2 separate regions of the Homo sapiens genome follow, and region 2 is linked to region 1. The links are contacts of gene promoters, found by promoter capture Hi-C in blood cells and fetal thymus (Javierre and others, 2016). All regions are on one chromosome and are shown on one strand. Each heading gives the region's core, a stretch centred on a gene start or on the middle of the fragment in contact. The rest is flanking DNA. Distances are from core to core; before and after follow the strand shown. Region 1 holds the start of CYRIB (CYFIP related Rac1 interactor B). Region 2 holds the start of CASC11 (cancer susceptibility 11).

Region 1 (3,565 bases), core at 916-3,415:
AAAAAAAAAAAAAAAGGTAAATTGTAACAGTTATGATAATAGTAACAACAATGGTGATTGCTTTCTCCTGGGTCCTATCCATATTAGGTTCTATATATTCGCTATTTCATTTAACCCTCACCATAACCTAACGAAGTCATTATTATCCATTCCATTTCACAGATGAACAAACTGAGGCTGAGAGTGGCTAAGTGCTTGGGCTCTGGAGTCAGACAATCTAGGTACATACCCAGCTCCACCGCTGTCTAATCTGTGTGATCTTGGGCAAATCTCATCTCTCTTCCAGCTGCAGTATCTTAATGCATGACACTGGGCCATGATAAACCTGCTTCATGGGCCTGCACACACTTGGCACCTGCTTAGTACTTTATAAATGTTCAGAATTGTTAATGCTCATTTTATAAGCGGCTCAGCTCTGCCTGCTTCCAAACCCTTTTCCTGCTTCTCCTCAAGGTCATAGTTCAGGACCCAGTGTTTCCCCACCTACTTCTCAGCCCCCACAGCAAGGTGGACATTAGTTCCCTTCCTTTAGGAATGAAGGCACTGGCGCTCGGGTAAGCTTAGAGAGCAGTCCAGGGAGTACTGCTGAAATGGCACCATCTCAGGGTCCCCAGCTCCGAGAACTGGGCCTGGCCAAGAGAAGGCGCAAGGCACCTTTGTTAAAGAATTGGCGGGCTGGGTGTGGTGGTTTATGCCTGTAATCCCCACACTTTGGGAGGCGGAGGCAGGGAGGATCCCTTGAGCCCAGGAGAAACAGGCCAGCCAGGGCAACACAGGGAGACCCACCTCTACAAAAATCTATAAAAATTAGCTGAGCATGGTGGTGCATACCCGTGGTCCCAGCAACTCGGGAGGCTGAGGTGGGAGGATCGCTTGAGCCCAGGAATTTGAGGCTGCAGTGAGCTATCGCATCACTGCGCTACCTAGCCTGGGAAACAGAGCAAAATCCTGTCTTAGACAAAAAAAAAAAAAAGAAAGAAAAAAGAAAAGAAATGGAACAACTGGCTCCTAATCAGGTAACTCAGCACTGAGTATGATGTGAGCACACTCCAACCCCCCTATAGCTGGAGGTGGAGGTGGAAAGACAATGGAAGCCTTTGATGTAACCCTTTTGATACCCTGCTAGAGGACAGCAGAAAGATACTTGAGAGAATGTTGTCTATCTTCCCGAGAAATTTCTGGTTGAATGTCAAGATAATGATAGGATGGGCTTCTGGGCCAGGGGAGCAAGGCAGAGGGAAGGAGAGTATCAGTTTCCTAGGCATGTCCTGTTACAGGGAGAAAAACACAGTATTTTCCATTCTAGATCAGGGGAAAGATGAGGTCTCCCATAATACCTGAAACTGGAATTATGGCGAGGAGCTTTTTATGTGGGAATTTCTGTACTAAATTTAAAGTCCTTGGAGAACCGCTTAGGGTAGCACCGACAGCCCGCACCGTCCCCTCACCCCGCTTTATTTTTCCTCTGGCACAGCACTTAGCACCATAGGACCCATCAGATATTTACGGCCTGTCCCCGCTGCCCCTCCCGGGCAGGGATTTTGTTTTGGTTCGCAGCTGCAGCTCCAGGGCCTAGAACAGCCCGGGCACTTAGTAGGCCCAGTAAGTATCTGCGGGAGGGCTGAATGGGTGCGTGGACAGCATTCCTCTCACTGACCCCGCTGCGAGGTGAGCCAGGCAGGGGCTGTCACCATTCCTGAAGTCCAGGTGAGGGGGAAGCGACCCAGGGATGGGAACCTGGCCGGCCTGAAGGTCTGGAGACCGGGGTTCGAGCCCAAGCCCTGCCTGACAGGCAGTGACCTTGGGGGTCACTCTTGCGCCTCTCGGAGCCGGGTTTCCTCCTCGCACAATGAGGGCGATGACCCCCAATCGCAGCGCGCCCCGCGGTGACTTGCCCAAGGTCACCACCGTCCCGGGCCCGTGGCGCCCCGGCTCGGGAGGACACGGGCCAGGCGGGCGCGGGGTTCTGGGGTGGGGGCCGGCGCGGGGCGGTCCCGGGGCGCGGCGCGCGCTGACGCCGGGGCCCCGCGATGCGGCGGGGACTGGGCGCGGGGGGAGGCGCGTCGCGAGGCGAGCGTCCTCCTTTTGTGCGAGCGCCGGCGGCTCGGCTTCTCGAAGGTAAACAGCGCTTCCTCTTCCTCCTCGCCGCGCCTCTTCCTTTTATAGTTATTTCTCGCCTGGCACTCGCCCGGGCTGCTGCTGCTGCTGCTGCTGCCGCCGCGGCGGGGGCAGCTCGCAAACCTGTGGCGGTGACGTGAGCCCCGCCAACCCGGAAACGGCGGCGGCGGCGGCACCGGAGGCTCCGAGGCTCCTGCGCTCCCGCGCCGCGCTCCCCTCGCCCGCCCGGGCCGCCAGGTACGTGCCGGGGCTCTGAAGGCGCCGCCGCCCGGCCGGCCCGCGCGCGCGCCCCTGGATCCGATTTGCCCCCGGAGAGGGCGCGGGGTGCGGGGCGCGCGCGTGATGGGTGCGGGGAGAGGCGGAGGTACCATCCGGGCCGCCGGGCCGGGCGCTGCGGCGGGTGGACAGGGGGCGCCGCCGTGGTGGGGGCGTCCGGGCCGGCGGGCGCGGGGGTCCCGGGGGAGGCGCCTCGAGTGCGCGGGGGGCGGCGGGCGGACGCGAGGGGAGCGCGCAGCGGGGCCGCCGCCCGGGTCCACCCAGCTGCGGAGCCGGCGCCTTGTGCGCCTCGAGGCAGGGGGCGCTCGGGTCGGGGTGGCTGGTCCCTGGCAGACCCTTCCTGCGAGCCGGGTGTCGGTGCGGGGACTGACCCCGGGAGCAGCGCTGGCCCCCGGCCACCTCCCATCAGGGGCTTGGAAGACCAGTCGCATTGGATTTGAGGAACTAGAGGGGGTGAACAAAATCTCCACTGGCCTCAAGACTTCCTCCTGGGGTAGCCACCCGCCTGTGTTTAAAGAGCACTTCCTCTTCGCCTTTTATCTTTTCATTATCTTTCTTTTTAAATGGAAGTTCAGTGTTAGCGGGTGGGTGCCCTTGCAGCCTGCAGGGCTTTCCTGGGGCTGTGTACACACACACTGGGGTTGGGAAAAACCTGTGTGTCCTTTGAAACGTGTGTCCTGTGTCAGGAGTGGAACGAAGGAGGAATCGAGGTCTTACCATGCTGGAGCTACTTGGAGTGTGCCTTTGCTACCCACCCTGCTGCAAGAGGTGGAGGGGTGCGGAGGGATAGAGCTGGGGCTGCGGGGGAGTGTCACATGCACTTTGCAGCTATGTTTAATTCCTGGCCCTGCCGCTTACTAGCTGTGTGACCTTGGGCAAGTCGCTTACCCTCTCTGAGTCTTAGGGTCCCGTCTGTGAAATGGGCTGCTGCGAGTGGGGCCTTGAGAAAACGAGCGTAGATTTCCTGGCCTGCAGGGGGCGCAGTGATAGAAAGTGTCATTGCCAGTCACCTTGAATTTCTGCATCCCCAGCACCTAGAAAGGGTGCGTTGAAGCACGTGGGAAGCACCCCATAGATAATTGTGAGATGAACGAGTGGGTGGTGAATTTTGAGAGGTGAGTCGGTGTGCTTCCACATTTTGGCTTCCTTGCCCTGTAACATCCATCCAGGA
Region 2 (3,422 bases), core at 5-2,504, 2.3 Mb after region 1:
GGCGAGAGGGAGGTTGCCTGCTCTCTGCCAGTCTGTACCCCACCGTCCCACCCCCACGCCTCCCACACGGAGTTCCCAATTTCTCAGCCAGGTTTCAGAAGAGACAAATCCCCTTTGCGCCCTGTGGCGCCGGTTTGCAACAGTCTCGGGCTGCCGGGTTTGGGAGAAATCAAAGGTGCTAGACGGGAGAATATGGGAGGGGCAGGGGGTACCCGAACCGCGGGACCGGACTTCCTAAAAGGGGCAAGTGGAGAGCTTGTGGACCGAGCCGGGGGAGTCAGCAGAGACCCTTGTGAAAAAAACCGTTAACTCTTTCCTCCCCGGACAAACCGGACGTTTAATTCCTTTCCAGGTCCTCTTTCCCCTTTTATTATTGGAAATGCGGTCATGCACAAAAAATGCATCGATTCTGATCAAAGAAGAGGAGAGGAGTATTACTTCCGTGCCTTTTTTTGGGGGGGGGGGAGTCTTGAGCTAATTAAAATTTGGCTGCCTTCCAGGCATTAATTTCCTAGTTCACTGACTCACAATTTTTTCTGAATACTAGTGAAAGTGCACTGTATGTAACCCGCAAACGTGTATTCACATTTTATTTACGCTTCGACTTAGCTAGTTGCCCAGCCCCACACATGATTTGTTTGCTCCCTGAAATGATCTATATTTAATATATAATGTATATTCCCTCGGGATTTTTTATTTTGTGTTATTCCACGGCATGAAAAACAAAAAACATTCTTCTCATCCTTGGTCCCTCACCCAAAGGCATTTTAAGTAAACTTTTCTCTCCCTCCACCACCTCCAAAAGAGAAAACAATTCGGGGGAAAGGGGTGCGTGTATAGCATGTACGCTGTTCAAGATGGGTTATTACCCGTTGAGTTTGCAGCTCAGCGTTCAAGTGTTAAGTGAATATAGTAGCTTCCAAATCCGATGCACTGCACAATTCAGCTTTAAGGATTGCAAATTACTCCTGCCTCCAGGCCTTTGCCGCAAACGCGGGGAGCAACCAATCGCTATGCTGGATTTTGCTGCAAAGCGTCTTTCCCTCCGCCCCCTCTCTGGGCAGCACCCGCGTTCAGGTTTGCGAAAGTAAAGTAAGTGTGCCCTCTACTGGCAGCAGAGATCATCGCGCCTGGATGTCAACGAGGGCGGGGGTCAGGTGGGGGCAGGAGCAGGAGCGTCCGAGGTGCAAGGTTTCCAGCGGGGGAAGGACAGGCGGTTCCTTAAAACAAGTTTCCAGCCACCTCCTTGTTATTCTTTCAGGTTGGCTGCAGAAGGTCCGAAGAAAGAGGAGTTACTGGAGGAAAAAGTGGTTCAGAGGTGACTATTCAACCGCATAAGAGATGGTGAAAATTAACCTATCACCACTGCTAATGAACATCACCCTATGGAGAACCGGTAATGGCAAACGTGAAATAATTCACAAGTACATAGACGAAAAAAAAATTCCAACAAACCCTAAAACGGCCAAACAAGCTTTAGCCCCCACGTCTTAGAAACTCATCATCTTTTTTAACCACAAAATTTGAAAGCAAGACACTGGATTTATTGGGGAAAGGGGAGGCACAGCAGAAGGTGATGGGTATTTGGTTTGGCCTATTATTATTAATTATTATTCTTATTATTTTTGAGACAGGGTCTCCTTCTGTCACCCAGGCTGGAGTGCAGTGGCACAATCAAAGCTCACTGCAGCCTCGATCCCCCCGGGCTCAAAGCAAACCTCCTACCTCAGCCTGATACCCCAGCCCAGTAGCTGGGAGTGCAGTGCACCACCACACCCGGTTAATTTTTTAAACTTTTTGTAGAGAGGCAGTCTGGTCATGTTGCCCAGGCTGGTCTCAAACTCCTCGGTTAAAGCGATCCTTCGGCCTTTGCCTCTGAAACTGCTGGGAATACAAGTGCGAGTCATCGCTCCTGGCCTTGGCTTATTATTTTTACTTTTAAAATATTGGGCTGGTGAATAATAAGTGATTTTTTTTAATAGCAAGAAGGGGTATTTGAGATCTCATAGAAAAAAAGTGTGAAGGAATAGGAGCATTTTATTAAAGGTTTTAATACTAAAATGAGTATGCAATAAGGTTGAAGTAAATGTGAAGGAAATTTACCTGGCACGTGTCCCTGGTCAAGTAGGTTTTTACGGGGCAAAGAATCCCTGACGGTGTCTGATCACTTAGATGCCCTAAGGACTTCTGGCAGTGGAGGTTCCTTCCCGCAGGAGCCTTGTAGGCTGATTTCCCAGGAATCTGGCACTTTTGGCATTACTCTAATTGAAGCTAAATGAGTGCTCTCCACAGGGGCATGCACTCCCCGCCCCTCAAAGAAAACCCTCAACAACAAACAAACAACAATGGCAAAACCAAAAGTAGGTCCAGCTTGACCTCATAGGGTAGTTTTTGAAAGTTGCTAAAGATGGCGGATATACCACATCTTCGGATCTGACTCTCAAATTATGCCAGTCCAGTGTAGGGCATGTGAACCCCAGGCAGATATAATGCCTGTGGGTTCAGAACTTAACCTCACTCTCCCTCAGGCTGGTGACATCACCTGAGGTGTTACTTTCAAGTAACAGCTTGGAGTTGTTTTGTGCCATCTCCATTTTTACATGAGAGAAAACAAAGCCAGACCTCAGCCAGGTTAAAGGACATAACTGATTTTCTTTTAGTAATTTTTGAGACATATTTGACCTAGAATAGACATTTGCTGGGTTGAAAAATGGCTGAGATTACAACTAGTATCATGTATAACTACCAAAGTGATACGTGTCCATTGGAAAAATCCATTGAGAAATAGAAAAAGAAAGGAAAAGGCCGTGTGTGGTGGCTTATGCTTGTAGTCCCAGCACTTTGGGAGGCTCAAGTGGGAGCATCGTTTGAGGCCAGGAGTTCGACAACAGCCTGGGCAATGTGGTGACGTGCCATCTCTAAAAAAAAAAAAAGAAAAAAAAAAAAAGAAAAGAAGAAGAAGAAAGAAAGAAAAGAAAAGAGAGTTTTTTCTTCTTTAATTTTTTTTTTAAGACAGGGTCTCACCCTGTAGTCTAGGCTGGAAGGCAGTGGAATAATCATGACTCACTGCAGCCTCGACCTCCCTGGACTCAGGTGATCCTCCTACCTGAGCCTCCTGAGTAGTTGGGTCTACAGGCACAAACCCCACGCTTGGCTAATTTTTGAATTTTTTTTTTTGTAGAGATGGGGGTCTCACTATGTTGCCCAGGCTGGTCTCAAACTCCTAGACTCTGGTGATTCTCCTGCCTCAGCCTAAGTGATTCTCCTGCCTCAGCCTTCCAAAGTTCTGGGATTACAAAGGCATTAGCCACCATACCCAGCCTCCTCTCCTTCTTCTTCTTCTTCTTCTTCTTTTTTGTTTTTTAATAGAGGTACATTTTTGGTAGAGATGAGGTCTCACTGTGTTGCTCAGGCTTGGTCTC

What was found. The method cuts DNA at HindIII sites, captures the fragments that hold promoters and counts their contacts. A CHiCAGO score of 5 or more calls a contact.
Region 2: the fragment with the promoter of CASC11 here is called in contact with the fragment with the promoter of CYRIB in region 1 in 1 of 17 cell types (non-activated CD4 T cells); the score reaches 6.4 in non-activated CD4 T cells.

The regions. Positions count from the first base shown.
Region 1 is chr8:130,015,160-130,018,724 of GRCh38, reverse strand. CYRIB (CYFIP related Rac1 interactor B) reads left to right here and starts at 2,165. Exons shown (of 14, transcript NM_001353258.2): 1 at 2,165-2,355. RefSeq lists silencers at 1,953-2,012, 2,063-2,132, 2,223-2,412, 2,603-2,872. The HindIII fragment of the contact is 5,812 bases long and covers 562-3,565 here.
Region 2 is chr8:127,731,799-127,735,220 of GRCh38, reverse strand. CASC11 (cancer susceptibility 11) reads left to right here and starts at 1,254. Exons shown (of 4, transcript NR_117102.1): 1 at 1,254-1,396. RefSeq lists a silencer at 1,060-1,179, a cis regulatory region at 1-2,504 and an enhancer at 2,084-2,585. The HindIII fragment of the contact is 10,989 bases long and covers 1-1,476 here.